Linked DNA regions of Homo sapiens: regions 2, 3 and 4 are each linked to region 1. The links are contacts of gene promoters, found by promoter capture Hi-C in human tissues and cell types (Jung and others, 2019). All regions are on one chromosome and are shown on one strand. Each heading gives the region's core, a stretch centred on a gene start or on the middle of the fragment in contact. The rest is flanking DNA. Distances are from core to core; before and after follow the strand shown. Region 1 holds the start of KLF16 (KLF transcription factor 16). Region 2 holds the start of DOHH (deoxyhypusine hydroxylase). Region 3 overlaps GNA15 (G protein subunit alpha 15). Region 4 holds the start of ZNF57 (zinc finger protein 57).

Region 1 (7,702 bases), core at 3,550-6,049:
CAGGGGACAACCCCCTCAAGGACCCTGGTGCCTGTGTAACCTCTGTTCCAGAAATGGTCTAAGCCAGGGTGGTGCCCCCCGCCCCCACAGCTCACCCTGCTGGTATCATGTGCCTCCTCCCCACCGATCTGGGCTGCTTTTATCAGAGAGCCTGGGTGGGGGTGGTTATCGCCCCCCACAACCCTGGGGGAGCCCTCCCCATCCCACTAGCTGGGGCACCTGCAGGCAGTTCCAGCTGCTCTCTGCACTCTGCAGGCTGGAGAGGCGGTGGGTGGGGGAGGGCAGTCCCTGGCCCCCTACCCCCCACCCCCTATGGCCTGGCACTGCCCCACTCCGACCCTCCCCAGATAAGCTGCCAGTTCTCCCAAGCTCTGCCCACCAGCACTGCCATCCCAACCCTACAGGAGCGCATAGTTCTGCCTGGGGGTGGAGGAGAGAATGAAGTGGGGCATGGCTGCTTCCCCCTCTGGGCCTCAGTTTCCCCACCCACCTGTCCTCCTGGGGCCCTCTTCAGCAAGGGATCAGAAACCTGGCAGGCACTCAGACACTCCTCTGCACACCTCGTCCTGAGGAGTCTCCCTCCAACCCAGTGCGTAGACCAGCACGCCTCGATCCCTCCCACATCTCGTCCTGCCCTCCTCAACCCCTCTCTGATCCTAATCCCTTCTCCATAAATGGATTTGCCTCTGCAAAGCCCAGCCTGCCTCACTGCCGCCCCCAGCGTCCCCACCCTCGGGATTAAGTGCAGGGATTCACCTTGCCGAGGTGCCCCCTCCCCACCTCAAGTCCCTACCTCCACAGCAGACCCCAGAGCCAGCACGCCCTTCCTCTCCCATTCCCTGCCCCACCCAGCCCAGTGGGCCTCAGGCTGCCTCCTCCAGGAAGCGCTTTCCGTCATCACTAGCATCCCTGTTGCCACCCCCCACCCCGCCCCCCGCCACCACGGACACAGTTCCCTAAGTCCTGGGGCGCGGGGACTGGGATGCTGGGTGCTGGCCTGCGGCAGGGGACTTCAGAGTGGGATACAACTGGGGGTGACCCTGCAGCCCCCTGGGGGGCACCTGACAAGGTCTGGGGACATTTGTGATTGTCACGACTGGGGAGGGGGTGCTCCTGCCATGGAGTGCGTAGAGGCTGGGGACACTGCATAACCCCCTGCAGTGCCCAGGACAGCCCCTCCCCAGAAAACGATCAGGCCCCAAATGTCTCGGTAAGTGCGGAGGAGAGAAGCCCTGGGTGAGAAGAACCCTTCCAGGTCTGAGCCCCTCTCCTGGGGAGGGTGTCGGCAAACCCTCTGGAGGTGCAGGCTGACGGTGTGCCGGGCACTGGCATGCCGGGGGCGGGGGGGGGGCCCTCCGGGGATGCAGGGGGTTTGGAGAGCAGGGAGCCGACAGCCAGCCTCTCCTCCCGCCCCCGCCCCAACTCGCTGGCTCGCTCACTCTCCGTAACCATAGCAACGGCGTCAACATCACCCACAGCTTCCAAAGTCCTTCCCCGCCCCACGCAGGGGAGAGAGAGCCGAGAGCTGGCCGGGCTAGGATAGGGGCTGTGGGCCAGACCCAGGGGACGGGAGGTGCAGTCCTGCCGCCTGCTGCCCCCATGAAGAACATCCCACTGCTCCCCTGGCCTCCCTGCTCCCAGGGCCAAATGTGGCCGAAATCACAGGTGGGGCTCCTCCAGTGTGCCTCAGTTGGTTTATCTGTAAAAATGGGGCCAGGCCACGACTGGTGTTCCCTTTACAGAGAAGCACTCCAGGCAGGGGTGGGTGGGGGTGGAACTCGTTCTCAATGGCCCCCGGGACAGCCCTGCAGCCACCGGTGACTCGGGTTCGTCTGCGGATCTTTCCCGGCCTCCACTCCATTCAGGGACAGCCCTGCAATGGGGCTCCCTCCCAAAAAAACGCATGGCCTTCCTGTCCCCCAAAACCAGCTTAACGGCAGCCATTCCCTCCCTCCTCCGGGGGCTGAAAAACCAGACCACCTTCCACTAAAAGAGGCCGTTTACACAGACCCCTTGGTGGTCCTGGGGGCTGGGGAGGCCCGGAAGAGGAGCCTGGAAAGCCACAAGTATCCAAAACCCTTTGGAAACCGAATCCAAGGTGCCTGGGCCTGGGACTGCCCTCCCAGTCCCCAAATCGTTACTGTAAAGGGGGCTTTGGAATGGGACGTCAGCAGGCTCAAGGGGTGGGGGAGGGTGCCAGGAGATCCGCCCTGCCCTCCCCCACCACACAGGGTAGACGGTGGCGCGCCATCAGCACAACTGCATCCACCCCTGGGGATGCCCGACTGGGCACCCCCAGGCCTGTTTCTTACTGCAATCCCGGGATAACAATACTGCCTTCCCAGGACTCCAAACCCATCCCTCCCCTCCCTGCTGGCTTAGGGACCGCTGCCCCAATACCCGGGGGCCTATGGAAGCGCCTCTTGGGTGCCACTCAGGGAGGTGGCCATCCCGTCCACTTAACCCAGAAACTCAGAAAACCCAAATGGAGCTCTCAGGCCACGCCATCTGGCAAGAAAAGAATGACCTGGGTAGACAGGTGGGAGTCGCTTTCCCAACAGGCTCCCACTTCAGCCCCGTCTGTTCAGATCGCCCAACTTACCCCCAAAAAGCCAGGGCACTCCTGGACCCCTGCCCACCGCCCGGAGAGGCACCTCCCTTTCTGTTCCCAACGCTGCCTCGCCATCTTCACAGACCCCCAATGTCCCTCCCCGCGGAGATACACGGACCCCATTGCCCTCAAAAAGAGGTAACACCCTGGGACCCCTCCGCCGAGGATGTGTGGCTCCTCGCAGAAAACGCAGACCCCACCCAAGTCCTGTCTTGACGCCCTCGGTTCCCGTCTGTGTCTCAAGGTGGGCAGAGCCTCCAGGCCCCTGGGACCAGGACAGGGACTGAGCGAGGGGTGAAAAGAGTGCAGAACAGAGAGGGGGCGGCCGGCAGGCTACACACCACCGCCCCCACCCGCCCTCCTGCTCTCCACCCTCAGGCGTCCCAGCGCGGCTCCCCATACCCCAAAGATGGACCCTCAATTCTTCCGCAAGGCATTCGCGGCCCCTGCTCATCTCAGCCCCACCACTCTGGACGGCCCACTTCCCTTCGGCTGCTCCACGTGTCCCTACAATCCGAGCCCACGGACCAAGCCTCCTTGGAGTGTCCAGCTGCCCAAAGCGGCCACCGCTATGGCTATGAAATAGAGGCAGCATCGCACTCTTGATAGAAATGAGAAAATTGAGACCCAGATCGGGTAGAGGTCTTCTGTTTGGTGGCAAGGCCAGAATGCCAAGCCCAAGGGCAGCCGCACAGCTTTCCCCCAGCCCCCCACCCTCCCCGGAAGGGACAAGCACCTCTAATGCCCAAACCAGGGCCGGCCATCAAGGCCCACCGTCCCCTGTTGCCCAGTCCAAACTCCCAGTCCAGAAAGTGGAACCCTAGGAGGGGACGGAGTGAAAAAATACAGCCAGGCCCACCAGGCTCCCGGTTCCCCTCGCCGCCCCGGGGACTGCGCTAGGAGGGGCGTTGGTGTAGCCGAAGCGCTCCAACTACGCGCACCTTCCCGAATCGCCCGCCAGGTAGGGGTGAACAAACACGCCAGGGAAATACAGCAGTGTGGACCCGAGCCCCTCGAGGGTCCTCCAATACTATGAAGTTCCCCCGCCCAGACTCAGGCCCCAACCCGCGCTCCTAGCCTCGCCCTCCCCCTCGTTAAAATACAGAGAACGCAGAGAAAACGTGCCGGGCTCCCCCCATCCTGGCCCCACGCCAGGTGCTCTGCCGACCTCTGGGGAGAATCCGCGCGGCCACCCCGGCGGCGGCGACGCGGTTCCTCCTCCATTTTCACAGATAAGGAAACTGAGGCTGGGGGAGGGGGAGAACCCAGAACCCCAGAGCCGGATGCTCCAACCACGGTGCCCACCGCCCAGACCAGAACGCAAAAGAAAAAAAAAAAAACGGAACAAGGCCCAGAAAGGGAGAGAGGTGGTCTGCCCAGGAGTCTCAATCCCGCCCGCAGACCTCGCTGGGCCCCCGGAGCCCCCGCCACTGCCGCCGGGGCGGCCATCCGCTCGCCGCCCGACCGCGTGGCCGCCACGCCCCCCGCGCGCGCCCCACCCACCGAGGCCCCGCCCTGCCGGCCGGCGCGGCGGCGGCCCGGGCGCGCCCCCCTCCCCGCCCCCCACGCGCCACGCAGTTTCGGGGTCCTGGCGGGGGAGGGGTCTCAGGCGGCCGCCCCCGCAAGGGCCGGGATCGCGGCTGCACTCACCTGTGTGCGTCCGCAGGTGCGACTTTAGGTGCGAGGACTTGTAGTAGGCTTTGGCGCAGTCCGGGAAGGGACAGCGGTGGCTCTTGGCGGCGGCGGAGGGCGCGGCGCCGGGGGCGCGGCCCGAGGACGGGGACGAGGCGGCTGAGGAGGAGGAGGCGGGCGAGGCGCCCCCCGGGGCGGCTCCGGGTCCGCCGCGCAGGTCGGCCAGGATGCTGGCGGCCAGCAGGTGGGGCGCCGCGGCGGCGCCGGGGCCCGGGCCAGAAGCGGCGGGGGGCGGCGGGGGTGGCCCCGGGGTCCCGGGTGAGGCGGCCTCGCGGCGCGCCGCGCGCACATCCAGGCCGGCGGCGGGGCCCGCGCCCTCGGGGCCGGGCCGCCCGCGGTGCACCACGGCGCCCGAAGAGATGGCCATGAGCACGTCGGCGGCGAAGTAATCCACGCACGCCACGGCCGCCGACATGCCGAGCAAGGGCGCGCGGCGCGGCGGGCGGAGCGGAGGCGGCGGGAGCGGCGTCCGTCCGGCCGGCGGCGGCTGCTCGAGTGCGGGAGGCGGAGGAGGAGGAGGAGGAGGCCCGGCGCGCGCCGCCGCCGACGCCCGCGCTCGGCCTGCCCCGCCCCGCCTGACGCGTCCTGACGCACCGGAGCCCGCGGGGGCGGCCACAGCCCGCCCCGCCCGGAGGACGCCCCCTCGGGGCGCCGCAGCCACGCCCCCCGCCCGGCGCGCCCTCCACCACTCTCCGAGCCGCGCGCGGCCGCCGGGGGCGGGGCTCGGGCCGGAGGAACCCGCCCCCCGGCGCGCCCACTCCGGCCTCCGCCAGCGCCTAGCGTCTTAGGCCCGGAGCGCGCCTTCTCCGCGCTAGGGTGCAAGGCCGGGAGCCCCGCCCCCTCCCGGCGCGCCCCACTCCAGCGCGCGCCCCCGTACCCTTTCCCGGAGCACCACCCCCTCAAGCCGGGGCGGGAGGCCGAGGACCCCGCCCCCTCTCCGGCACGCCCCTCCTTCCGAGAGCGCGCCCCGCCCCATCCCGGCACGCCCCTCCCTCCCAGAGCGCGCCCCGCCTCCTCGCTGGCGCGCCCACCCCACGCCGGGGCGCGCGGCCGGCGGGAGCCCGCCCCCTCCCCGGATGCTTCCCTCCTGGCCCCGGGCGCGCCCCCGTTCGCGATGGAGGAGGGCTCCGATCCCCACGTGGCCGGGGTTGGAGGGGTGCGGAAGCGGCCGGCCCCGCCCCCAGGCCACGTGCGCGACCCTTCCCCCCTCTTCTCCCGGCCTGGGGCCCTGCTTTGACCCCGCACTCAGGCATCTGCTCGTCCTCTTCTCTGGGGTTCCCCCTCGCCGCTCACAGAGCCCCTCGGAGCCTCCCGGCCGAGACACCCGGTATCCCGCGCCCGCGGCGGGGCCCGGGAGGGTGGGGCAAGGCTGCGTTCGTTCCTCTTTTTGCACCCAGTTCCGGAGCTACTAGAGCGCGCCCCACTGGGGGTGGGGAGGGCCGGTTGGGTCCCAGAGGGTCGGGATAGGGGGACGGGAAGAGGGGGCCGAACGCAAAGGGCTGGGCTGGGCTGGGGGCGCCTGAGCGGGTCAGAGGTTCCCCGCCCTGCTGGGACACCGGGGTCCGGGGCTTCTCTTTCCATTCCCAGGCATCGATTCTTGGGGTTCGGACGGGAAAACTGAGGCCAGGTATTCGGGCCTCCCGGCCGCGAGGACGTCCAGGCCAACTTGTTAAATATTAGGGGGGACACCAGGGACGCGGATGGCCCAGTTCGCAGGCCCAAGGCGGCGGGGGCACAGAAACTGGGCGGCCCCCCTCGGTCGCGACCGCGCTCCCGCCCCTTCCCAGCTCCGGCGGGGCGGCGGGGACTGCGCAGTGGCCGGAGCTGCCTCCAGGGGGCGGAGCTGCTTTGGCCTGCGGCGACCTCCTGCTCTGGGTTGGGCATGGACAGAGGCCCTGACCCGATTCGGGGCTTCTCTAGCCCCATCCCCCGCCCACCTGCAACCCCAGCTGACGCCCTGAGGCTGACCACTGTTCCCTGGGTCGCCCGCACTGCGCCTGGGCTCAACCATGCTTGGTTAAGCCAGCTGAGCCCTCCCTGGGCCCCAGTAAGCCCACTCTACGTGGCTGGACAGAGCGGAGCCGAGAGAGAGGAGGTTCAGCGAAGTGTGGGAGGGTACAGGGTGCCCTGCACACACTTGCCCCTCTCCTAGGCCTGGGCTCCAGAGCCCTCTCTGCACCCCTACCATTCGGTGGGCGCTGGGGGTCGGCGTTCCTGCTCCTGCTGGGCCTCTGTTGTCTTTGAACTTCTAGGACGATGGGCCACTTGGGCAGGTCCCCCAGGTCCCCACCATCCCAGCAGCCCCCAGGGTCCTGGAACCCCGCATTGGCTTGTGGACAGGTGTGTCTTGAGGCCTCAGGGTCCACACCCAACCATGCGTCTTCCACTGATGTTTCCTGGGCTTAGAGCAGAACCAACCAGCCCTGCCCTCAAGGGGCTTACAGTTGTAACTGGGAGGCTAACGATGGGGGGCAGGGGTGAGCAGCCTCCAGGGGTGGGCCACATGGCCCCAGGCAGGACCTTCACTGTGAGACTCCATTGTCTGCCCACTCCAGCCATTATCAGGGTTTCAAGTGAGTGGCCTCATCTGCAGGTCATGCCAGCCACTCCACAGGCAGGAGACCCCAGGTGAGGGCACACAGCCCACACCCCACCCATGAGGCTTCTATTCACACCCCTAAGCCCCAGGAACACTCAGGCAACCCATGACCCCTGCGGTGAACACAGACAAACCTCCAGCAGCGCCCGGCACAGGGCTCTGTCCTCTCTTCCTTACTCTCTATGACCCTGTAAATTCTCCACCGGGTGCGGTGGCTCACGCCTGGAATGCCAGCACTTTGAGAGACCAGGGTAGGAGGATCACTTGAAGCTATCAGTTCAAGACCAGCCGGGGCAACGTAATGAAACCCCCAACTCTCCACATTAAAAAATGAGCTGCAGGCCGGGTGCAGTGGCTCACGCCTGTAATCCCAGCACTTTGGGAGGCCAAGGCTGGCAGATCACCTGAGGTCAGGAGTTCGAGACTAGCCTGGCCAATGTGGTGAAATCCCGTCTCTACTAAAAATACAAGAAAAAATTAGCCGGGCCAGGTGGTGGGCACCTGTAATCCCAGCTACTCAGAAGGCTGAGGCAGGAGAATCGCTTGAATCTGGGAGGTGGAGGTTGCAGTGAGTTGAGATCGAACATTGTACTTCAACCTGGGCGACAAGAGCAAAAACTCCATCTCAAAAAAAAAAATTAGCTGGAGGCCAGTCATGGTGGCTCACGCCTGTAATCCCAGCACTTTGGGAGGCCGAGGCAGGCGGATGACCTGAGGTCGAGAGTTCGAGACCAGCCTGACCAATATGAAGAAACCCCGTCTCTACTAAAAATACAAAAAAAATTAGCCGGGCCTGGTGG
Region 2 (7,702 bases), core at 3,352-5,851, 1.6 Mb after region 1:
ACGATCATGGCTCACTGCAACCTTGACTTCCCGGGCTCCAGCGATTCTCCCGCCTCAGCCTCCCAAGTGGCTGCGACTACAGGTGCATGCCACCATGCCTGGCTAATTTTTGTATTTTTTCTAGAGACAGGGTTTTGCCATGTTGCCCAGGATGGTCTTGAACTCCTGAGTTCAAACGATCCACCTTCCTGGGCCTCCCAAAGTGCTAAGATTACAGGCCTGAGCCACCGCCCCCTGCCCAGTTGAGGTTGTCTGGGCACACAGCCTTAGCCATTTGGTGACAGATGACCTGCGCTGGCTTTATTGAGTCGCTGTCTGGCTGCAGAGCTGCAGGTATTTACTATCTGGTGCTCTATGGGGCAGTTGACCACTCTGATATTTATCACCTGAGTGAGGAAGGGGACACGTGGGGTCATGAAGAAGTGAGGCAGGAGGGAGCAGGTGCCCGGGACACAGACAGGTGCTCACCTGCCTCATGGCGCACCATGGGCTCCTGACGGGTGTCTTGCAGCACGTCCACCAGCATGGGGATGGCGCGGGCATCCTGCATCTGGCCCAGGCAGTAGGCCAGCTCGTGCTTGAGCAGGGCGGAATCGTCATCGAAGGCCTGGCTGATCCATGCAATGGCGCCTGGGCCGCCGAGCCCACGCAGCGTGAACAGCGCCCGGAAGCGGGCCTGCAGGGGCTGCTTGGGGTCCACCAGCGTCTGCCCGATGGCATCCACCTCCTGCTCCGTCACCATCGTGCTGTCAATGGGTCCCGGCCTTCCACAACCCTGCTCAGGCTAAACCTGGGGACGCGGGGATGTAAGAACCTGTGGCAGAAAAATGAGAGCCCAGGTTAGAAGCCCCCTTCACCAGTGCGTTGTCTGTTCCTAGGACCTGGGTGGGGCAAATTCCTACCCACTGACCAACCTGAGCATCTACGCTGAAAGCTCAGCTCCAACCTCCCTACTAGCTGTGCAGCCTTCCGTAAGTTGCTTTCCCTCTCTGGGCCTCAGTCTCTGCACTGCCTCTCGCCTATAGGCCTATCAGAAATGACCTCCACTGTCTGCTCTCCACACAGCAGCCAGAGGGACAGCTGACCCCCAAAATGGCCCTAGCGATCCCCACCCAATATTCAAGGCTTTATATAGCGATCCCCACCCAATATTCAAGGCTTTATATAGTCCTCTCCCACTCTGAACAGGGCTGACCCATGTGAATGCCAAGAAGATGGAACAGAGCAAGACTTCCAAGGTTAGGGCATAAAAAGCACAACAGTCTCATCCTTGTTCTCTCTCTAGGGGAAGCCAGTGACCATGTTGTGAGGATGCTCAAGCAGTCTTTTGTAGGGGCCCACGTGGCAAAAAACTGAGCCCTCCCACCAACAGCCATGTGAGAGAAGTGGGCTGGCAGCAGCTCGTCCAGCCCCAAGCGAACCTTCAGATGATGCAGCCCCAGAGCGTCTCCACTGAGGCCTTACCAGAGGCCAGACCCAGAGCCAGCCAGCTAAGCCAGGCCCAGAGCAACTGTGTGCGACACTGTTTACTGTTGTTGAAGGTAACCAAGTATGTTTTTTTGTTTGTTTTTGAGACAGGATCTTGTTCTGTCGCCAGGCTGGAGTACGGCAGCATGATCACGGCTCACTGTAGCCTCGAACTCCCAGTCTCAAGTGATCCTCCTGCCTCAGACTTCCTAGTGGCTGTGTCTACAGGCACACACCAGCATGCCCAGCTAATTTTTTTTTTATTATTTGTAGAGATGGGGTCTCACTTCTATGTTGCCCAGGCTGGTCTCCAACTCCCAAGCTCAAGTGATCATCCTGCCTCAGCCTCCCAAAGCATTAGGATTACAGGCATCAGCCACTACCCCCAGCCATTATGGGGATTTTTGTTACACAGCTTAGATAACAGATTCAGAAGTACTTTCAATATGTAAACTGGACCATATCACTCCCTTGCTTAAAATCCTCCTATGCCTCCTCACTCAACTACTTGACAGTCCCAAAGGCCCTTCATGACCATCTCCCATCACCTCTTCCCTCTCTAGCTCCACTCCAGCCACACAGGCCTCCTCGCTGTTCCTCCAACACGCCAGGCCCAGTGCAGCCCTAGGGCCTTTGCATTTGCTGTGATCTCCATGAGGAACATTCTTCCCTAGATGTCCCCACGTAGCAGGCCAGGCCTCACTAACACAGGCCTCCATAACTGTTTCAGCACTGACTGAGTGGTTAAGTTAAACATTAAAAGCTAAAAGAGCCAGTGCCCTCATACAAAGGCTGGAATGTAACAAAAGCCCATGAAGAGTTTTGCCCAGGCCTTTCCTGGGCCTTAAGGCATGACAAGATAATGAAGGAATTTTTTTTTTTTTGAGACAGAGTTTCGCTCTTTTGCCCAGGCTGGAGTGTAGTGGCATTATCTCGGCTCACCACAACCTATGCTTCCAGGGTTCAAGTGATTCTCCTGCCTCAGCCTCCCGAGTATCTGGGATTATAGGCATGCACCACCATGCCCGGCTAATTTTGTATTTTTAGTAGAGACAGGGTTTCTCCATGTTGGTCAGGCTGGTCTCGAACTCCCAACCTCAGGTGATCCACCCGCCTCAGCCTCCCAAACTGCTGGAATTACAGGCTTGAGCCACCACACCCAGCCAATAACGAAGGAATTCTTAATGTGACCCGTTTAGGATGAAACAAGTTTTACTGGGTGTCTGAAGAACTCCCCAAACCTCCATGATTTAGCAGGAGACAAGATAAGGATGATCACCCCAGCACCTGGACCCACTGGAGATGAGATAAGGGTGATCACCCCAGCACCTGGACCCATTTAGATTAAGTAAATTTACTGAGGTTCCAAAGGAAAGTCTTCAGGATTCAGATCTTAGTTATAGATTAAAAGAAGTTAGTCACTTTAAGTCTTTAGATGGATGCTCAGTTACATGTAGATGGAGAGCTTAGAGGGTATATAAGCTCTGGAAAACTTTGTCATTTTGAGTTGGTCTGGCGATATTTTCCAGGCCTTCTCCCTGTAACCGGTTACAGAAATAAAAACTCTCTTCCTCCCCAGTTAATCTGCATCTCGTTATTGGACCATGAGAAATAGCAGCCCGACCCTCAGTTTGGTCCAGGAACACCCGTGCTCATCCTCTTGCTTTCCTGGGTCTCCAACATCACTTCCTCATGGAAGCCTTCCCTGATCACAATGGACAATGTTACTCTTCCATCTCTTTTCACTTATTCAGCTTTATTTTTCTCCACGGCGCCTAAGACTCCTAGATATCATATTGGAAAGTATTGGTTTAGTTGCTTGTGATTGGTCTTATCCCTCATTAGAATAGAACTCTGAAGGCTGGGACTGAGTCTATCTTGGTCACTGTTGTATTCCCAGCACTTAGTGCAATGACCTGCACGCAGTAGGGCCTCAATAAAAACAATAACCGGCTGGGCGCGGTGGCTCACGCCTGTAATCCCAGCGCTTTGGGAGGCCGAGGTGGACAGACCATCTGAGTTCAGGAGTTCGAGACCAGCTGACCAACATGGTGAAACCCCATCTCTACTAAAAATACAAAAATTAGCTGGGCGTGGTGGTGGGCGCCTGTAATCCCAGCTACTCGGGAGGCTGAGGTAGGAGAATCGCCTGAACTCGAGAGGCGGAGGTTGCAGTGAGCCGAGATCGTGCCATTGCATTCCAGACTGAGCTACAAAGCAAGACCCTGTCTCAAAATAAATAAATAAAATAAAAACGACAACCGTGACAATAGCAGCTGACACTTATGTAGCATTTGCTACGCGCCAGGCACTCCATGCTCTTTACATTCATTAATTCATTCGATCTACATCACTACCCTGTGAGGTAGTTACTAAGATTGTCCCCATTTTACAGGTGAGGAAACTGAGGCACAGTTTGGGACTGTGCTTGGGAACTTGCTTGGGAGCAGCGTGAAGAGTTAGGAATCCAGGAAGTCTGGCTCCAGAGTCGGGCTCTAAACCACCAACGCTTTGTTGAATGACTTAGGATAAAAGAACACAGCCAAGGGGAGAAGGGACCCCTCTCTTTCCAGATCGGCTGAGAACCTGGCGGATGCTTCATCTCAAGACAGGCTGGCTATGGCATGCTGGCAGCCCTCTCTGGTGAACAGTGGCGTCAGCAAGGCTGCCTGGGCTTGACGAGGGCAGTGTAGCCACCTAAGCACAGGTGACCATCAAAGGAGAGTGACACCTTTAAAGAGGGGTCATCAGAAACCAGAGGGCAGGCCTGTGCGAGCTGGCAGGGCACTGGGGACCATTGAGACCCAACCGTACGACATAGGAGCTTCAGGACGTGAGGTGGGCACTCTTTCATGTAAAAAATCCCAGAGGAAAGAGATCGCCGGGACTCGAGACCCCTTAACCCGCCCCATCCACAGTCAACGAATCCCTGAGACCGGATTCCCTAACGAGGCGCTCCCGGTGCCACCGCCCGCCAGACCCGGGCCCCACACCGTGATCGCCGCCTCCGGGACGCCTCACCGAGCTCTGGAGACTCAGGACCCGTCGGCCCGGCCAGTAACCGCAGGCGCCTCTGCCACCACCGCTTCACCTGCCGCGACGCCCGCAGTGCGGTCTGGGGGCCGCCATTTTCTCGCCCACGTGACCGTGCCGGACGGCACCAACGCAGCCGCGGGTGAGACCTAGTGAGAGGCTCCGTGCATGAGGGAGGCCCGGAAGGCTGAGTCGGTGCTGGTGCCACAGCTCATGCAAACGCAGGAACAGTATTCCTAGTGCGTTCTTCGGGGAAGGGGACGGGCAACGTATGCCCTTTCATGGGAAAAAATTCTCTCCAACCTCCCCACTGCGGTACAAGAAGTGAGACTGGTTTGTGCCGATTCAGCGCCCTGCCTGGGCTGGCTAGCAACGGAGCATGCGCAGTGTTTCTAGGCGTGGTCAGACTCCAGAGGTGTTGGCCAATGGGCTCAGGGAGCTCGAACCTTAAGTAGGTGAGGAATAAAAAAAGGAAGAAATGCAGTCGTTCATTCATTCATGTATGTAATAAATAGTACATGGCCTTGAGGACAAGAGAGCCTTCAGCCCTTACCCTCGTACGCCTCCCAGTGTTGTTATAGAGACAGAAAATAACACGATAAGTAAATGCAATACCTATTAGATGGTGAAAAAGGCTAACGAGAAAAAATTCGGTAGCCAAGGGCGGTGTATGTATAGGGTGTGCAGTTTCAGGAAGGGTGGCCAGAATCTGAGGTGGTGACATCTGAAGAAAGACCTGAAAGAGGCCGGGTACGGTGGCTCACACCGGTAATCCCAACACTTTGGGAGGCCGAGGTGGGTGTTATCACTTGAGGTCAGGAGTTCGAGACCAGCCTGGCCAACATGGTGAAACCCCCATCTCTACTAAAAATACAAAAAGGCTTCAGCTTCCCGAGTAGCTGGGATTACAGGCATGCAACACCACACCAGCTAACTTTTTGTATTTTTAGTAGAGACAGGGTTTCACTATGTTGGCCAGGCTGGTCTCAAACTCCTGACCTCAGGTGATCCACCTGCCTTGGCCTCCCAAAGTGCTGGGATTACAGGCGTGAGCTACTGTGCCCTGCTTGCAATCTCTTATTTTTAAAATGTGGGTGACTGCCAGGAGTGGTGGCTCATACCTGTAATCCTGGCACTTTGGGAGGCTGTGGGGTGAGAGGATGATCGATTGAGCCCAAGATTCCAAGACCAGCCTGGGCAATGTGGTAAGCCCCCGTCTCAACAGAAAAAAAATTTTTTTTAATTTGGCTGGGCGCAGTGGCTCAGCCTGTAATCCCAGCTACTTGGGTGGCTGAGGCAGGAGAATCGCTTGAGCCTGGGAGACACAGGTTACAGTGAGTTGAGATCCTGTCACTGCACTCCAGCCTGGGCAACAGAGCAAGACTCCATTTCCAAAAAAAAAAAAAAAAAATCAACTGTGCCTGGTGGCTCATGCCTGTAGGCCCAGCTACTCAGGTGGCTTGATAGCTTGAGTCCAGGAGTTCAAGGATCCAGTGAGCTGTAATCACACCACTGGATTCCAGCCTGGGTGACAGAGCAAGACCCCATCTCAAAAAAAAAAAAAAAATGAGCAATTAATAAAAAAACATGGCTGGGCATTGTAGCTCACGCCTGTAATTCCAGCACTTTGGGAGGCCAAGGCAGGTGGATCACTTGTGGTCAGGAGTTCAAGACCAGCATGGCCAACATGCTGAAACCCCATCTCTACTAAAAATACTAAAATTAGCTTGGCCTAGTGGCGGGTGCCTGTAATTCCAGCTACTCAGGAGTCTGAGGCAGGAGCATCACTTGAACCCAGGAGACGGAAGTTGCAGTGAGCCAAGATCGCGTCACTGCACTCCAGCTTGGGTGACAGAGTGAGACTCCATCTCAAAAAAATAATTAAATAAAAATTAATGAAAAAACATAAAATGCTGTGCATAGCAAAGAAATCCTTTTGGAAGGCCAACTTCTATTTTAAGACAACATTCACAAATACTTATTGAGCAACTACTGTGTGCTGGACAGTGTCCTGAGCACAGAGGATAGTGTCCTGGGCACAGAGGACACAGGACAAAACAGACACAGTGTCTGGCCTCATGGAGCTGACACCCCCACTTTTATTTTTTTGAGACAGAGTCTCGCTCTGTCACCCAGGCTGGAGTGCAATGGGGCGATCTCAGCTCACTGCAAGCTCCGCCTCCTGGGTTCACGCCATTCTCCTGCCTCAGCCTCCCAAGTAGCTGGGACGACAGGTGCCCACCACCAAGCCCAGCTAATTTTTTTGTATTTTTAGTAGAGACGGGGTTTCACCGTGTTAGCCAGGATGGTCTCGATCTCCTGACCTCGTGATCCGCCCGCCTCGGCCTCCCAAAGTGCTGGGATTACAGGCGTGAGCCACCGTGCACGGCCCACCCCCCCTTTTTTTTTTTAAATTATTGTATTGCCTTCCTATGTGTTGGAAAACTGACTGCAGATAACAGGCATCACTGCAGCCCTCAGCTGCCTTGCGAGGACGTCATCTCAACATGTTTGTGGCTCAGGCTGTTTACGGAGGACTTCCCGTGGACCAGGAGCTGTGCTGACTCAGGAAGGCTACGAGGGCAGGGTGCCAGGTGTGACTGGCCCCAAGGATGCTCCCCAGGAGGAGATAATCCCAGGGTGCAGGACGCAGATATCGAAGCCTCAGCCAAAAGCAAGGCCTGTGTAAGTCAGAGAACTTGGCATCTGGCCTCTGTAGACCTTCGAGAAACTGATAGCACAGAAGAACCAAGTCTGCGTCTTCTGTTCGGTGGGTCCTCTGGGATTGAGCAAGTCCCTGGGGGGCGGAAGTCTGGAATCCAGGTATCTGCAGATCTGTGGCCTCTCTGGAGGCTCCAGGGGAGGATCCTTCCTGCCTCTTCCAGCTTCTGGGGGTGGCCGCCAGTCCTTGGTGTTTCTCAGCTTGTGGCTTCGTCACTCCAATCTCTGCCACTGTCATCACCTGGCCTTGACCCCTGTGTGTCTGTCTCTGTGTTTCTGTGTTAGAATCTCCCTCTCCTCTCCTTTTATTTTATTCTTCTGAGACAGAGTCTTGCTGTGTTGCCCAGGCTGGAGTGCAGTGGCGCGATCTCAGCTCACCGCAACCTCTGCCTCCCGGGTTCCAACGATTCTCCTCCCTCAGCCTCCCGAGTAGCTGGGAATACAGGGGCCTGCTACCATGCCCGGCTAATTTTTGTATTTT
Region 3 (7,702 bases), core at 2,914-5,413, 1.3 Mb after region 1:
TGGGGGTAGACAGTGGAGCCGGTGGGCTAGAGGATGAAAAGGTGGTGATGGAGTCCTTTGGGACAGGTTGAGTCTGAGGGGCCTAGGGGGACTCCACCTTAGCTGGCAGACAGAGGTGGGAATGGCCAGTGCAGCACCCTAACCCTAACCCTAACCCAGCAGAGCAATGGCCAATGTCAAAGGTCAGGAAAGGAAAGGTCAAGAATACAGTGAGAAGAATGACTCTGGGATTGGCAGTTAGAGGGTCACTGGTGACCTTAGCAAGATCTGTTTCCATGGGCTGATGGCGGGGAGCTGAGCAGGGGTGCAAAGTCATGCCCAGAGACAGCGATTGTGTTTGACCTACCCCTATTTGGCCTTCCTTTCCCTAAATCCCCCAAACCTATTGTTTTGGCCTCTTCAATAGTCCTTACTAGGAAGGTTCATAATTTATCTGTTTTCTGTGGGTCTCCTCTACAAGATGGAGAGCCTCACAAGGTTAGGGGCTGAGTTTGATTCTTCTGCTTCTTTAGTGAATAGCTAAAGGTCAGAGTAGAAGTTGGTAAATGTGGGTGGATGGTTGGAAAGATGGAATGGGGGCAACCCGCTCGGGTCCCCTTCCACGCTGTGGAAGCTTTGTTCTTTCGCTCTTCACAATAAATCTTGCTGCTGCTCACTCTTTGGGTCCACACCACCTTTAAGAGCTGTAACACTTACTGCGAAGGTCTGCGGCTTCATTCTTGAAGTCAGCGAGACCGAGAACCCACGAGAAGGAACCAGCTCTGGGACACAATAGTAGTGTTAGTACCCAAGGATGACTTCTATGGGAGAGATACTTGGTCTGGGAATCTTTAAAAAAAAAAAAAAAGGAAAGATGGAAGGGAATGGATGGGTGGATGAATGGGTGGATGGATAGATGAATAGATGGATGGATAAGTTGAGGGATAGATGAGTGGATGGATGGAGTGGCAGGATGGATGAGTGGATGAATCAATGGATAGATGGATGAGTGGGTGGATGGATGAATGGATGGATAGATGGATGGATTGAAAGAGGGATGAGTGGATGGATGGATGGATGGATGGTTAGATGGGTGGATGGGTGATACATGAATGGATGAGTGGGTGGATGAGTGGATAGATGGATAGATGGGTGGATGAATGGGTGGATGGATGGGTGAATGAGTGGATGGATGAATTAATGGGTAGATGGGTGGAAGGGTGATGGGTGAATGGATGGGTGGGTGGATTGGTGAGTGAAGGATGGATGGATGAGTGGATAGATGGATGGGTGGGTGGGATGGATGAATGGATGGATGAATGGGTGGGTGAATGCATGGATGGATGGGTGGATGAGTGGATGGATGGATGAATGAATGGGTAGATGGGTGGCAGGTGATGGATGAATGAATGAATAAATGGGTGAATGGGTGAGTGAAGGATGGATGGATGAGTGGGTGAATGGATGGATGAATGGATGAGTGGATGGGGGTGTGGGTGGGTGGATGGGTAGATGGGTGGACGAGTGAGTGGATAGATGGGTAGATGGATGTATGAGTAGATGGATAATGGGTGAACAGATGGGTGGATGGATAGATGAGTAGATGAAGCGATGGATGGATGGGTGGATTGAGTAAATGGGTGGACAGGCAGGTGGATGATGGATGGATGAATAGATGGGTAGATGGATAGACGGATAGATGGATGGATGAGTGAATGAATAGATGGATGGGTGGATGGATAGATGGATGGATGGGTGGGATGGATGGATGGATGGATGGATGAATGGGTGGATGGATGGGTGGATGAGTGGATGGATGGATGAATGAATGGGTAGATGGGTGGTGGGTGATGGATGGATGGATGAATGGGTGGATGGATGGGTGGATGAGTGGATGGATGGATGAATGAATGGGTAGATGGGTGGTGGGTGACGGATGAATGGATGAATGGGTGGATGGGTGAGTGGATGAATGGATGAGTGGATGGGTGGGAGGGTGGGTGGATGGGTACATGGGTGGATGAGTGAGTGGATAGATGGGTAGATGGATGGATGGGTAGCTGGGTAATGGGTGGACAGATGGGTGGATGGATGGATGGATGAGTAAATGGAGAGATGGATGGGTGGGTCGGTGGGTGGATTTCGTAAATGGGTGGACAGGTGGATGGATGATGGATGGATGGATAGATGGGTAGATGGATAGATGGATGGATGAGTGAATGGCTGGATGGGTGGATGGATGGGTGGGTGGATGGATGATGGATGGATGGATAGATGGGTAGATGGATAGATGGATGGATGAGTGAATGGCTGGATGGGTGGATGGATGAGTGGGTGGGTGGATGGGTGGATGGATGAGTGAATAAATCGATGAATGGGGTGGGTGGGTGGATAAAAGTTTAGGAGTGAAGGTAGAGGCTGGGAAATCATGGGGAAGTCTGGGCCAAGGAAGTGATTTTTAGGTGTGGCCCAGGAGTGAGACGAATGAATGGAGTGAGGGCTCAGAGGACACTGAGACCCGAGATGAGAGGTGATGCCCACAGTTCCCAACTGGTCAGTTGCTGATCCCACTCCCGTCTCAGTCTCCAGAGCCCCCTCTCGACGGCTGCTTACCCTGTCTGGCTCTGGATGTGGGGTTTGAGGGACTCTGAGGATGCATGGGAGGAGTGGGTCTCAGGGATCAGGAGACACATCCAGCAGCTGCAGCCTAACTGCTTCATCATCAGTCCCGGTTTCCCCTCCTGTGCAATGGGGCAAGTCCCTTCTTGCTTGAGGCCCTGGGCCGGGCCCGTCCAAAGCCTCTGTTCTGGGACTTCCTGAGTAACGGTTGCATCCCCAGGGAAATGACGCACAGATGGTTATCAGCGACCCACATTTCTCAGAAGAGAGAGAACAGGAAGGTGGGGGCAGGGTTCAGGCTTTTGTTACGGTGCGTGGGGCTGAGTCACAGATGGAGGGGAGGACGTGTGCTCTGGGAACAGCCCTCATTCCCATCTGTGTGGCCACTGGACATGCCCATGGCCAGCCAGAGCACAGGAGCCCCATAGCACAGATGGGAAAACTGAGTTTTGGAGATGTTTGGCAATTTCCTCCGCCGGGTCGCCCAGCCAGCACCAGGGCACATCTCAGATCTGTCCAACCTGCTCCCCTCTAATATGGGGGTAGAAAGCAGGCAGCCCAGCACAGTAGAAGCTTGGGAAAGTCCCCGCTCCTCCCTGGATCTCAGGCTTCTCATCTGTAAAATGGGCGTAAGACTCATCCTTGCCTCGCGGGAATGACATGGCAAATCCACGAGAGGCTAGCACCTATTCTTGCTGTCGCTATTATGGATCTTGGCATATCCCAGACGTGATGGGGGTTGGGGGTGTCACGGAGCAGGCTCCTGAGCTCTGAAAGGGGGCACCTCGGTTCCCTGTAGGATCGTGGACGTCGGGGGCCAGAAGTCAGAGCGTAAGAAATGGATCCATTGTTTCGAGAACGTGATCGCCCTCATCTACCTGGCCTCACTGAGTGAATACGACCAGTGCCTGGAGGAGAACAACCAGGAGGTGCGCCACCGCCTCCCTCGCCCTGCCCACTTGTTGGCCCAGGGACCCTCACCTGAGCAGGAAGCTCTGGTGCAGAAAGGGAGGGATCCCTGCTCTTGAACGGGCCTGTGTGTGCCCAGCATGGCTATGAACTTGACCCTTCAGCCTTTTGTGGTCAGATTGCAGCAACCCAAGACACAGACCTACAGCATTTGTTTGGTCAGGACCCCAGACACACACACACACACACACACACACACACACACACACACTACAGTGCACACACGCACATACACAATGCATGCACACAAACACGCACAGACACGTGCATAATACATGCACATACACACGTGCACACACGGGACACATGTACACACGCAGTGCACATGCACAACACATGCACACGAACACACATGCACCACACACATGCACACTTGCATGCACTCACGTGCACAATACACGCATATGTACACATGCGCACACACATGAACACACACATGCACACACACAGTACACACATGCACACGCACACACAGGCACACACACGCACACACAGGCACACAGGCACACACATGCGTGCACACACACATGCACGCACACGCACAGGCTGGAGTGCAGTGGCGCGATCTCGGCTCACTGGAAACTCCGCCTCCCGGGTTCACACCATTCTCCTGCCTCAGCCTCCGGAGTAGGTGGGATTACAGGCACCCGCCACCACGCTCGGCTAATTTTTTTTTTGTATTCTTAGAAGAGAGGGGGTTTCACCATGTTAGCCAGGATGGTCTCAATCTCCTGACCTCGTGATCCGCCCGCCTCGGCCTCCCAAAGTGCTGGGATTACAGGCGTGAGCCACTGTGCCCAGCCAATAGCCTCTTTTAATAAGTACACCAGTCGTCTAGGATCAGGGCCCACCCTACTCCAGTACGACCTCATCTGGGTTAATTCCTCGTGTGATGGCCCTGTTTCCAAAGAAGGTCACAAACTGAGGTTCTAGGGGGTTAGGTCTTGAACGTATGAATTTTGGGGAAATATGATGTACCCCATAACACAAGGCATTTGAGACCTTATTGTACTTTTTTTTTTGAGATGGAGTCTCGCTTTTGTCGCCCAGGTTAGAGTGCAGTGGCGCGATCTCAGCTCACTGCAACCTCCGCCTCCCGGGTTCAAGCGATTTTCCTGCCTCAGCCTCCCGAGTAGCTGGGTTTACAGGCACCTGCCATCATGCCCGGCTAATTTTTTGTATTTTTAGTAGAAACGGGGTTTCACCATGTTAGCCAGGCTGGTCTCCAACTCCTGGCCTCAGGTGATCTGCCCGCCTTGGCCTCCCAAAGTGCTAGGATTACAGCCGTGAGCTGCCGCGCCCGGCCAGGTCTCCCTCTTCTTATGAGGACAGCAGTCACGGACTTGAGGGCCACCGTATTCTAGTATTGCCTCACCTTAACGACCTCTTCAAAGACCCTATCTCCAGGCCAGGTGCAGTGGTTCATGCCTATAACCCCAGCACGCTGGGAGGCCAGGAGTTCAAGAATCTCTCTCCAGATAAGGTCACACTCTGAAGCTCTGGGGGGACATGAATTTCGGGAGGACACACTTCCAACCAGCACAGGCACAAAACCATGTCAGGCACACCCAGGCAGCTGTCCATATGGAAACACGGGCACACCCGCCTCAGCCCCAGCCAGGCAGATAGGGGTGAGCCCATGCCCCTGGAGCCAACAGCCCCGTCTCCGCGATGGGAGGGTTTCCTGTCCCACCTGGCTGGTTGAAGCACTAACCTGCTTCTGCCCCCAACACAGAACCGCATGAAGGAGAGCCTCGCATTGTTTGGGACTATCCTGGAACTACCCTGGTTCAAAAGCACATCCGTCATCCTCTTTCTCAACAAAACCGACATCCTGGAGGAGAAAATCCCCACCTCCCACCTGGCTACCTATTTCCCCAGTTTCCAGGGTAAGTAATTCTAGAACTTTCTATACCCTTCAACTCCCAAAAGCAGCTCCGAAGAGAGATGCTAATCCAGACTCTACTTCAGCCTGGAGTCACCGGAACTTTCACATAGGATCAGACCCGCGTTCTAGACTCAGCTCCATCCACTGCCCGACCTCATTGAATCTGTTTTCCCTTCTGTGGAATGGAATAAAATAGCAGAGGCCCTTGGAACTGAGTAAAGTGAGGAATTCTAAAAACACGTAGCATATCACGTACACCTTAAACATTTTATTTATTTATTTATTTTTGAGACAGAGTCTTGCTCTGTCACCAGGCTGGAGTGCAGTGGCGTGATCTCGGCTCACTGCAACCTTTCCCTCCAGAGTTCAAGCGATTCTCCTACCTCAGCCTCCCTAGTAGCTGGAACTACAGGTGCGCGCCACCACGCCCAGCTAATTTTTGTGTTTTTAGTACGAAAAGACGGGATTTCACCATGTTGACCAGGATAGTCTCGATCACTTGACCTCCTGATCCACCCGCCTCAGCCTCCCAAAGTGCTAGGATTATAGACAGGAGCCACCATGCCCGGCCAAACATTTTATTTTATGCTTGTTGGCCAACATTTGGGGTTTGAGCCAAGATCCTTCAAGCATGGGTTTGCTATGTAGAGGTCACTGTTGTAAAGCACTTCTGGAAAGATTGTCTACTATTTCCAGAATCTGCCTAGGTTTTAAGAATGATTCTTTTTCTTTTCTTTCTTTCTTCTATTTTTTCTTTTTGAGACAGAGTCTCACTCTGTCACCCAGGCTGGAGTACAGTGGTGCGATCTTGGCTCATGGCAACCTCCAACTCCCCGGTTCAAGTGATTCTCCTGCCTTAGCCTCCCAAGTAGCTGTGATTACAGGCACGTGCCACCAAGCCTGGCTAATTTTTAGTAGTTTCCTGTCCTATTTTTAGTAGAGATGGGGTTTCACCATGTTGGTCAGGCTGGTCTCGAACTGACCTCAAGTGATCCACCTACCTCAGCCTCCCAAAGTGCTGGGATTACGGGCGTGAGCCACCGCATCTGGCCATAACGTTTCTTTTTCTAATCTTTCATAGTGATCTCATCTATCCCTAATTGGATAGCAATTTCTTTTTCTTTAATCCATTTTTTCTTTAATTTTTTTTTGTTTGTTTTTTGAGACGGAGTCTCGCTCTGCTGCCCAGGCTGGAGTGCAGTGGCGCAATCTCAGCTCACTGCAAGCTCTGCCTCCTGGGTTCACACCATTCTGCTGCCTCAGCCTCCCGAGTAGCTGGGATTACAGGTGCCCGCCAGAACGTCTGGCTAGTTTTTTGTATTTTTGGTCGAGATGGGGTTTCATCATGTTACCCAGGTTGGTCTCAATCTCCTGACCTCATGATCCACCTGTCTCGGCCTCCCAAAGTGCTGGGATTACAGGCGTGAGCCATCGTGCCCAGTCTATTTTTTCTTTAATTTCTTTTCTTTTTTTTTTTTTTTTTGAGATGGAGTTTTGCTCTTTTTGCCCAGGCTGGAGTGCAATGGCACAATCTCGGCTCACCGCAACCTCCGCCTCCCGGGTTCAAGGGATTCTCCTGCCTCAGCCTCCCGAGTAGCTGGGATTGCAGGCATGAGCCACCACCCCGGCTAATTTTGTGTTTTTAGTAGAGACGGGGTTTCTCCATGTTGGTCAGGCTGGACTTGAACTCCCGACCTCAGGTGATCCACCCGCCTCGGCCTCAAAGTGCTGGGATTACAGGCGTGAGCCACCACACCTGGCCTTTCTCTTTAATTTTTAAAGCAGAGCTTTGAACAATGTTTCCAAAGCACACAGCTTAGTTTTGTAATACAATGACCTTCTTTCATGCGGCACTTGTAGCTACAGATTTGCATAACGTTTCTTTTAATTACATATGAATCAAGACACGTACAATGGGCAAAAACAGGTTTGGGAACAAACTCTCAGTCCATCCAGAGGGTGAAAGGGCCACAGGGCAACTACAGAGAAACACCATCTAGTGTTGGGCACCACTTAGTATATTTTACAAAGGGGAGGCAGAGTTGTGGTTAATCCAGGGACCAACGTGGGGAAGGTACATATTCACTAGCACTTTCCCCAGAACACCACTGTGAGGATAAAGTGTGGTGGCGGGTGTCCTGCTTAGCTACTGCCGAGTAACAAACCATCCCCAAACTTAGTGACTTAAACTGGTCATTTTCCTTTGCTTATGATTTTGTGGGTCAGGAATTTGGGAAAGGTTGAGCT
Region 4 (7,702 bases), core at 3,051-5,550, 1.0 Mb after region 1:
CTCCAGTGTGAGTTTTCATGTGTTATTTTAAGGATGGGAGACCACAGAAAGCTTTTCCATGCTGCATACATTTAGAGAGTTTCTCTCCAATGTGAATCCTTATGTCTTTGTAAGGACGAGAGTCTACCGAAGGCTTTTGTACACTCCTTACATTCGTAGGGTTTCTCTCTACTGTGAGTTCTCAAATGTCCTCGAAAAGATGATGACCAACTGAAGACTTTCCCACGCTGCTCACACACATAGGGTTTCTCTCCAATGTGAATTCTCACTTGTGTTCGGAAGTATGAGGGACTACTGAAGACTTTCCCACATTCCCTACAGGTGTACAGTTTCTCTCCAGTGTGAGTCCTTATGTGTCCCTTAAAGGAGGAGGGAGAACTGAAGGATTTTCCACACTGTTTGCATCCACAGCGCTTTTCCCCAGAGTGTGTTCTCATGTGAACCCTAAGGTCCGAGGGCCAACTGTAGGTGTTCCCACATTCCACACACCTGTAGGCTTTTTCTCCCGTGTGCATTCTGGCATGTATGATCAGGTAGAAGGAACGAAAGAAGGCCTTCCCACATTCTTTGCATTTGTAGGCTTTCTCTGGACTGTGAACATTTTTTTTTTTTTTTTGAGACGGAGTCTCGCTCTGTCGCCCAGGCTGGAGTGCAGTGGCACTATCTCAGCTCACTGCAAGCTCCGCCTCCCGTGTTCACACCATTCTCCTGCCTCAGCCTCCTGAGTAGCTGGGATTACAGGCACACACAACCATGCCTGGCTAATTTTGTATTTTTAGTAGAGACAGGGTTTCTCCATGTTGGTCAGGCTGGTCTTGAACTCCCAACCTCAGATGATCCACCTGCCTCGGCCTCCCAAAGTGCTGGGATTACAGGCATGAGCCACCGCGCCCGGCTTGTATTTTTTTTATAGAGATGGGCTCTCCCTATGTTGCCCAGGCTGATCTCGAACTCCTGGACTGAAACGATCCTCCTGCCTTGGCCTCCCAAAGTGCTGGGAATACAAGTGTGAGCAACCACATCTGGCCCAACTTGCATAAAACCTTCTAAGTAGGCGGCCACATTTTTTTCAATTACTTTCCATTGCTAAAATTTCTCTGGTCAATTTCAGACACAATGACTGACAGGCCAGCCTGCTACTCATAGAAGGTCTGGCTACAGAACATGAGAAGAACAGGTAGGTGCCAGCAGGCTTCCAAGTGAAAGGAACACCCATTTTCACTTCAATTATTTATCCCTGCTTGAATGTAACATCGTCAAAAATCACCATGATAGATAAAAAGAATGTAACGGTAGAAGTAAATCTTGTCATTGGAAGTGATAATATTGCTTTTCTGAGAAACTAAACATAACTGCAAAACTGCCAGAACTTGATAAAATACGTGCAATATACATAATTAAATGTATTGATGGACTAAAATTTCATTTTCTGGAAAAAGTATATAAAATATTGAGGAAGAGGCTAAACACCACCTGCCGGGTCTGTGTGAGGACAATTTCAGGTATCTCATGAGAAGGTGACAGAGAGGTCGCCCATGGGTATATAAACAACTTTGTGAGGGCGAAGACTCCTCAATTCAAATGCATTTGCATTCTGTAAGCATATTGAGTTCAGTGGGCCAGGCACGGTGGTTCATGCCTGTCATCCCAGCATTTTGGGGTCCTGGCGGGAGGCCATGAGTTCAAAATCAACCTGGGCAACATAGGTAGAGCCTGTCTACAAAAAATAAAAAGAGTTAACTGGTCCACGGGTTCTGGTTTACAGTGAGCTGGTTTTTTTGTTTTTTGTTTTTTGGTTTTTTTTTTTGAGATGGAGTCTCACTCTTTCACCAGGGCTGGAGTGCAATGGCACGATCTTAACTCACTGCAACCTCCACCTCCCTAGTTCAAGCCATTCTCCTGCCTCAGCTTCCCGAATAGCTGGGACTACAGGCGCTCGCCACCATGCCCAGCTAATTTTTGTATTTTTAGTAGAGACAGGGTTTCACCATGTTGGCCAGGATGGTCTCGATCTCTTGACCTCGTGATCCACCCGCCTCGGCCTCCCAAAGTGCTGGGATTACAGGCGTGAGCCACTGCACCCGGCCGAGCTATGATCTTGTCACTGCATTCTACCCTGGACAACAGAGCAAGACGTTGTCTCAAAAAAAAAAAAACACAAAAAAAACAAGAGAGAGAGATTGAGAGACAGTTAACTGGTTTATCCCAAATTTATTTATTTAATTTTATTTTTAAATTAAATTTAATTTTTTTTTTCAGACAGTATCTCATTCTTTTGCCCAGGCTGGAGTGCAGTGGCAGGATCTCAGCTCACTGCAACCTCCGCCTCCCAGGTTCAAGCGATTCTCCTGCCTCAGCCTCCTGAGTAGCTGGGATTACAGGCACGCGCCACCAGGCCCAGCTAATTTTTGTATTTTAGTAGAGACAGGGTTTCGCCATGTTGGCCAGGCTGGTCTTGAACTCCTGACCTCAGGTGATCCACCCACCTCAGCTTCCCAAAGTGCTGGGATTATAGGTGTGAGCCACCACGCCTGGCCTGGATTTTGTTTTTTTTTTTTTTTTTTGAGACGGAGTCTCCGTCTGTTGCCCAGGCTGGAGTGCAGTGGCGCCATCTCGGCTCACTGCAAGCTCCGTCTCCCGGGTTCAGCCATTCCCCTGCCTCAGCCTCCCGAGTAGCTGGGACTACAGGTGCCCGCCACCACGCCTGGCTAATTTTTTTGTATTTTTAGTAGAGATGGTTTCACCGTGTTAGCCAGGATGGTCTCGATCTCCTGACCTCGTGATCCACCCGCCTCGGCCTCCCAAAGTGCTGAGATTACAGGCTTGGGCCACCATGCCCGGCCCCGGATTTCTTGATCTAAAGAATGTCCGCCGGGCGCGGTAGCTCACGCCTCTAATTCCAGCACTTTGGGAGGCCGAGGCAGGCGGATCACGAGGTCAGGAGTTCAAGACCAGCTTGGCCAACATAGTGAAACCCCCGTCTCTACTAAAAATACAAAAATTAGCCGGACGTGGTGGCAGGCGCCTGTAATCTCAGCTACTCGGGAGGCTGAGGCAGGAGAATCGCTTTAACCCTGAAGGCGGAGGTTGCAGTGAGCCGAGATCACGCCACTGCACTCCAGCCGGGGCGACAGTGTGAGACTCCGTCTCAAAATAAAAAAATAAATAAAACAAAAAACAATGTCCAACAAAAAAACAAATCCAGCGAGGCCAGACAGGATAGGGGCTCCCTGGGGTCCGCCCATTTTCGGGATCAGGTGACTCGAGGTTTGGTCCTTATTTTAGTGCAGGCTCAGATGTCGGGGGCGAGCCAAAGTGCAGGGGCCTGTGGGAAGGACAGGAGGCTGGGAAACGTTTGGGTAAAAAAATCAGGACACTGGCCGTGCGCGGTGGCTCACGCCTGTAATCCCAGCACTTTGGGAGGCCGAGGCGGGCCGATCACGAGGTCAGGAGATCGAGACCATCCTGGCTAACACGGTGAAACCTCGTCTCTACTAAAAATACAAAAAAATTAGCCGGCGTGGTGGCGGGTGCCTGTGTCCCAGCTACTCGGGAGGCTGAGGTAGGAGAATGGCCTGAACCCGGGAGGCGGAGCTTGCAGTGAGCCGAGATGGCGCCACTGCACTCCAGCCTGGGCGACAGAGCGAGACTCCACCTCAAAAAAAAAAAAAAAAAAAAAAAAAAAAATCAGGACACTGACAGCACGTGCTCCAGCACGGGGCAGGGCCTCCATGGGGTCCGCGCCCACGCGGGGCAGCGCGGTGACGTCACGGCTGAGGACCCCGCCCCACGAAGGGCTCACCCCACGCGACCCACGCCGCTCGCTCGCCCCTCCCCTCCACGCAGCACTCCGGCTGCTCCGTGGGGAAACTGAGTCTGGACTTCTCGTGCCCGTTCGGGAGAAGGACGCGGGAGGCGCGGCCGAGCTGCGGGGAGAGGTTGGGCTCACCCCGGGCCAGAGCGAGTTCGCGCAAACGGGAGTGTCCACCGCTGGCGGGTCAGCCACTAGCGTTGGCTACGCGCCGGTCACTCGGGCGACAGGAGGCGGGGCGGCGCGGAAGTTATCTTCCAATCAGGTGCTCCGGGGGCGGGTCCGGAAAACTGTCCAATCAAGGCACGGGGCGGACACCGGGAAGCGGATTGCAGGTTTGCAGTAGTGTCCAATCGAAGGCCCCAGGGGTGAAGGGGGCGTGTCCAAAACGCTGTCCGCTCAGAGCGTTGAAAGGGCGGGGGCTTAGAGATTGTCCAATCAGGGCGCCGCTTCCTGAGCTCCGAGGCCCCGAGGGCGGGACGTTTCGTCCTCCCTGCCGCGCGTGCCCTGCCTACCACGAGCGGCCCGGGAGTACCTGTACCTTTCAGCTGCGCCGGCCGCGAGGCCACGGAGAGCTCGCCTTGGAGAGCCCAGGAGCAGGGGAGACATGGTGAGTGCGAGGCAGGAGCAGAGCCAGGGGACGGTCGGAGCGACGGGAACCGGCTGGAACCAGAGTCCGCCGAAGTCTGCGGCCGGGATTGGCTGAGGGACGCGCGGGGCGGCGCAGGACTAGCACCTGGGACCCGGGGACGCCATCACAGCGGCCGGGCTGGAGGACTGGGGGCAGTTTGGGGGGACGGAAGGGGCGGCAAGGAGCTTGGGGGTAACTTAGGGGGAGGCCTGGGCAGGAGGGGGGCTGGAGGTAGTTTGGGGGGACGGTAGGGGCGGTCAGGGGTCAGGGACCAGTTTGGGGGGACGGCAAGGGACGGTCAGCAGGTTGGGGATGTTACGCGTGTCCGTATAAGAGGTCACCTGAGCAGGCTTAGTGTGAGCCACAAGGCTGTTTACTCACTTGGGTGCAAGTGGGCTGAGTCTGAGAAAGGACTCAGCAAAGGGTGATGGGATTATTATTGGTTTTATTTTTTTATTTTTTTTATTTTTGGGACGGAGTCCCGCTCTGTCGCCAGGCTGGAGTGCAGTGGCGTGATCTCGGCTCACTGCAACTTCCGCCTCCCGGGTTCAAGCGATTCTCCTGCCTCAGCCTCCGGAGTAGCTGAGATTACAGGCGCCCGCCCTCACGCCCGGCTAATTTTTGTTTTTAGTAGAGACAGGGTTTCACCATGTTGGCCAGAATGGTCTCGATCTCTTGACCTTGTGATCCGCCCGCCTCGGCCTCCCAAAGTGCTGGGATTACAGGCGTGAGCCACCGCGCCCGGCAATCATTAGTCCTTATAGGTTTGGGACAGGCATCGGAGTTAGGAGCAGTTTTTTTGAGGACAGTTGGTGGGTGTTACAAAGTACATTCTCAAGGGCGGCGACGATGTTTCAAAGTACATTCACAAGGGCTTGGGGGATGTATTGTCACAAGGGCTGGGAGGAATATTACAAAGTACCTTCACAAGGGCGCGAGCGTGTATTGTCACAAGGGCGGGGTACATTCACAAGGGCGAGGAGGACGTATCGTACAAAGTACATTCACAAGGGCGGGGGAATATCACAAAGTACATTATCACAAGGGCGGGGGGCTTGACCATGGTGCGGCCAGCTCAGAGAACCTTACAGGGGACAGCTTGGGGGGATGGCAAGGGACGGCCTGGGGGTCAGAGGCAGTTTGGGGGACGACCTCAGCGGTGGGAGTTAGCTGCCCTGGGGGTTTTGTTGCAGGGTATCACTAATGCTGTGAAAGCTTTATTCGGGCAGCCGGTGTCAGTAAATGTACTGTACTGTTCTCCTGTTTGGCTTTTTTCTTCTCCTTAGTGACAATAGGAAAATGTTCAAGTGTGTTTTCTGCCTTCTGGTCCGTCAGGATAACACCTGTTTATCGTGGGGTACAGGCTAAGCATGGCCTAAGGAAGTCTCTCAGGAATATTCTGTCTCCCACCAGAATTGTAGAGAAAGTGTGCGCAGTTCCACATCTTATAGCAGCTAGAGATGGATTAAAATGTTCATAAAAATAGTAGTTTTTCAAATGCCAAAGCAATCAGACAAAAAATAATAGTTATTCTTCCATACAAGGTGCAGAGTTTGCGACAGTGTGTGATCGTGTTCCATTTCAGTTCAGCTAGACATGAGATTAATGCAAATTCTGCAAAAACCTGTAAAACTGAGGCGTGTTCCATTCTGGTTAGTTTCCAGTTTGTCACCAGGAGTATTGCTTCACTGATCCATCATCTGTTTGCTGACTGGGAAAAGCAGTTTCTGGCCATGTAAAGTCATAAAGACTGCCTTGGAACTCCCTTCCCCCACTTACACAAGGGGTGGAAAGCACTGATTCTGCTGCATTCTCACTCTACGGGATGAGGGTCTTTGTGGCATTTAAAGTGTAGCACCTGGAGCAGGGAGGTGAGCCCCAAGACCGGTGACTCCAGCTGAGCCCACAGTTGAGCCTGCACTGGAGGCCGCTGAGGGTGCAGCGGGGTCTGGCTGGGCAGCCTCCACTTGCTCAGTCCTCCTGCCTCGTAGAACAGCCGCAGCGGGAACTGTTCATGCTGATTGAGGCTGCTGAGCATGGGAAAGACGATTGTCCTGGAGATGTGCTTGTGGGCGTTTTAGCCTTTCTGAGGTTGCACCTGTGCTGTCTTGGAGCCGTTTCTAAGCAGTGGGTTTAGTTTATGCTTTAAGTGTTGTTTTTCTTTTTTGGAGACACTGTGTCTCCCAGGCTGGAGTACAGTGGCGTGATCTCCACACATTGTATCATCCGCCTCCCGGGTTCAAGCAATTCTCCTGCCTCAGCCTCCCGAGTAGCTGGGATTACAGGCACTTGCCACCACGACCGGCTAATTTTTATATTTTTAGTAGAGACGGGGTTTCGCCATGTTGGCCAGGCTGGTCTCAAACTCCTGACCTTAAGTGATCCACCCTCCTCCGCCTCCCAAAGTGCTGGGATTTCAGGCGTGAGCCACCGCGCCCGGCCTGGATTAAGTTTTAATATAAACACCAGTGGCCTTACTGCCCGCATAAATAGGCCTCCGGCCTCTCTTCAACACCTGTGTGCTGCTCCCAGCGCTCATCTCTGTTCTGCCCCCAGGGTAACCACTGTCCTGATTTTTTTTTTCATTCTCTCTACCTTTACCATTTATTATTTATCACCATACAGAGTTTTAATTTTGCCTCCTTTGAATTTTTTTTTTTTTTCAGGCAGGGTCTTACTCTGTCGCCCAGGCTGGAGTGCAGTGGTGCGATCTCGGCTCACTGCAGGCTCCGCCCTCCGGGGTTCACGCCATTCTCCTGCCTCAGCCTCCTGCGTAGCTGGGACTACAGGCGACCGCCACCTCGCCCGGCTAATTTTTTGTATTTTTAGTAGAGACGGGGTTTCACCCTGTTAGCCAGGATGGTCTTGATCTCCTGACCTGGTGTTCCGCTCGCCTCAGCCTCCGAAAGTGCTGGGATTACAGGCGTGAGCCACCGCGCCCGGCCCATTCCTGGCTAATTTTTATATTTTTTTGTAGAGACGGGGGGCCTCGCTGTTGCCCCAGGCTAGTCTCAAACTCCTGGACTCAAGCGATCTGCCCTCCTTGGCCTCCCAAAGTGCTGGGATTACAAGCATGGGCCACTGCACCTGGCCTGAAATTTCAATAAGTGACTGTGACCATTAATGCACCGTGAATAGCAGCTCAAAAGGCTTTTCTGTGGTTTCTTTCCTTTGCGCACATGCTGGTGTCTGAGACAGTGGGTGACGCAGTTAGTTCAATCATTCCAGCGTTTGTCAGGCTTGGGTTAATTCAAGTGTGT

Evidence for each region. The method cuts DNA at HindIII sites, captures the fragments that hold promoters and counts their contacts. A contact is called where the count stands out against the background at its distance.
Region 2: a contact is called between the fragment with the promoter of DOHH here and the fragment with the promoter of KLF16 in region 1, in 1 of the 25 tissues and cell types used here (spleen).
Region 3: a contact is called between a fragment that was not itself captured here and the fragment with the promoter of KLF16 in region 1, in 1 of the 25 tissues and cell types used here (lymphoblastoid cells).
Region 4: a contact is called between the fragment with the promoter of ZNF57 here and the fragment with the promoter of KLF16 in region 1, in 1 of the 25 tissues and cell types used here (lymphoblastoid cells).

The regions. Positions count from the first base shown.
Region 1 is chr19:1,858,780-1,866,481 of GRCh38, forward strand. KLF16 (KLF transcription factor 16) reads right to left here and starts at 4,800. Exons shown (of 2, transcript NM_031918.4): 1 at 4,262-4,800. The coding sequence starts at 4,718. RefSeq lists enhancers at 2,343-3,228, 6,336-6,890, silencers at 4,043-4,212, 4,263-4,442, 4,773-5,872, 5,943-6,162 and a promoter at 4,689-5,893. The HindIII fragment of the contact is 11,768 bases long and covers 1-5,834 here.
Region 2 is chr19:3,496,073-3,503,774 of GRCh38, forward strand. DOHH (deoxyhypusine hydroxylase) reads right to left here and starts at 4,602. Exons shown (of 5, transcript NM_001145165.2): 1 at 4,489-4,602; 2 at 469-814. The coding sequence starts at 742. It overlaps LOC105372245 (a long non-coding RNA gene), which reads left to right and starts at 43. Exons shown (of 4, transcript XR_936262.3): 1 at 43-82; 2 at 879-971; 3 at 1,286-1,541; 4 at 3,863-4,979. RefSeq lists an enhancer at 4,604-4,713. The HindIII fragment of the contact is 49,740 bases long and covers 1-7,702 here.
Region 3 is chr19:3,152,426-3,160,127 of GRCh38, forward strand. GNA15 (G protein subunit alpha 15) reads left to right here. Exons shown (of 7, transcript NM_002068.4): 5 at 3,398-3,527; 6 at 5,303-5,456. It overlaps GNA15-DT (GNA15 divergent transcript), which reads right to left and starts at 2,750. Exons shown (of 4, transcript NR_110670.1): 1 at 2,593-2,750. RefSeq lists enhancers at 2,366-3,323, 2,611-2,940, 2,981-3,070. The HindIII fragment of the contact is 4,542 bases long and covers 1,893-6,434 here.
Region 4 is chr19:2,896,628-2,904,329 of GRCh38, forward strand. ZNF57 (zinc finger protein 57) reads left to right here and starts at 4,301. Exons shown (of 4, transcript NM_173480.3): 1 at 4,301-4,421. The coding sequence starts at 4,419. It also overlaps the pseudogene LOC100419704. RefSeq lists a silencer at 3,689-3,738 and enhancers at 3,918-4,489, 4,349-4,498. The HindIII fragment of the contact is 10,438 bases long and covers 1-7,702 here.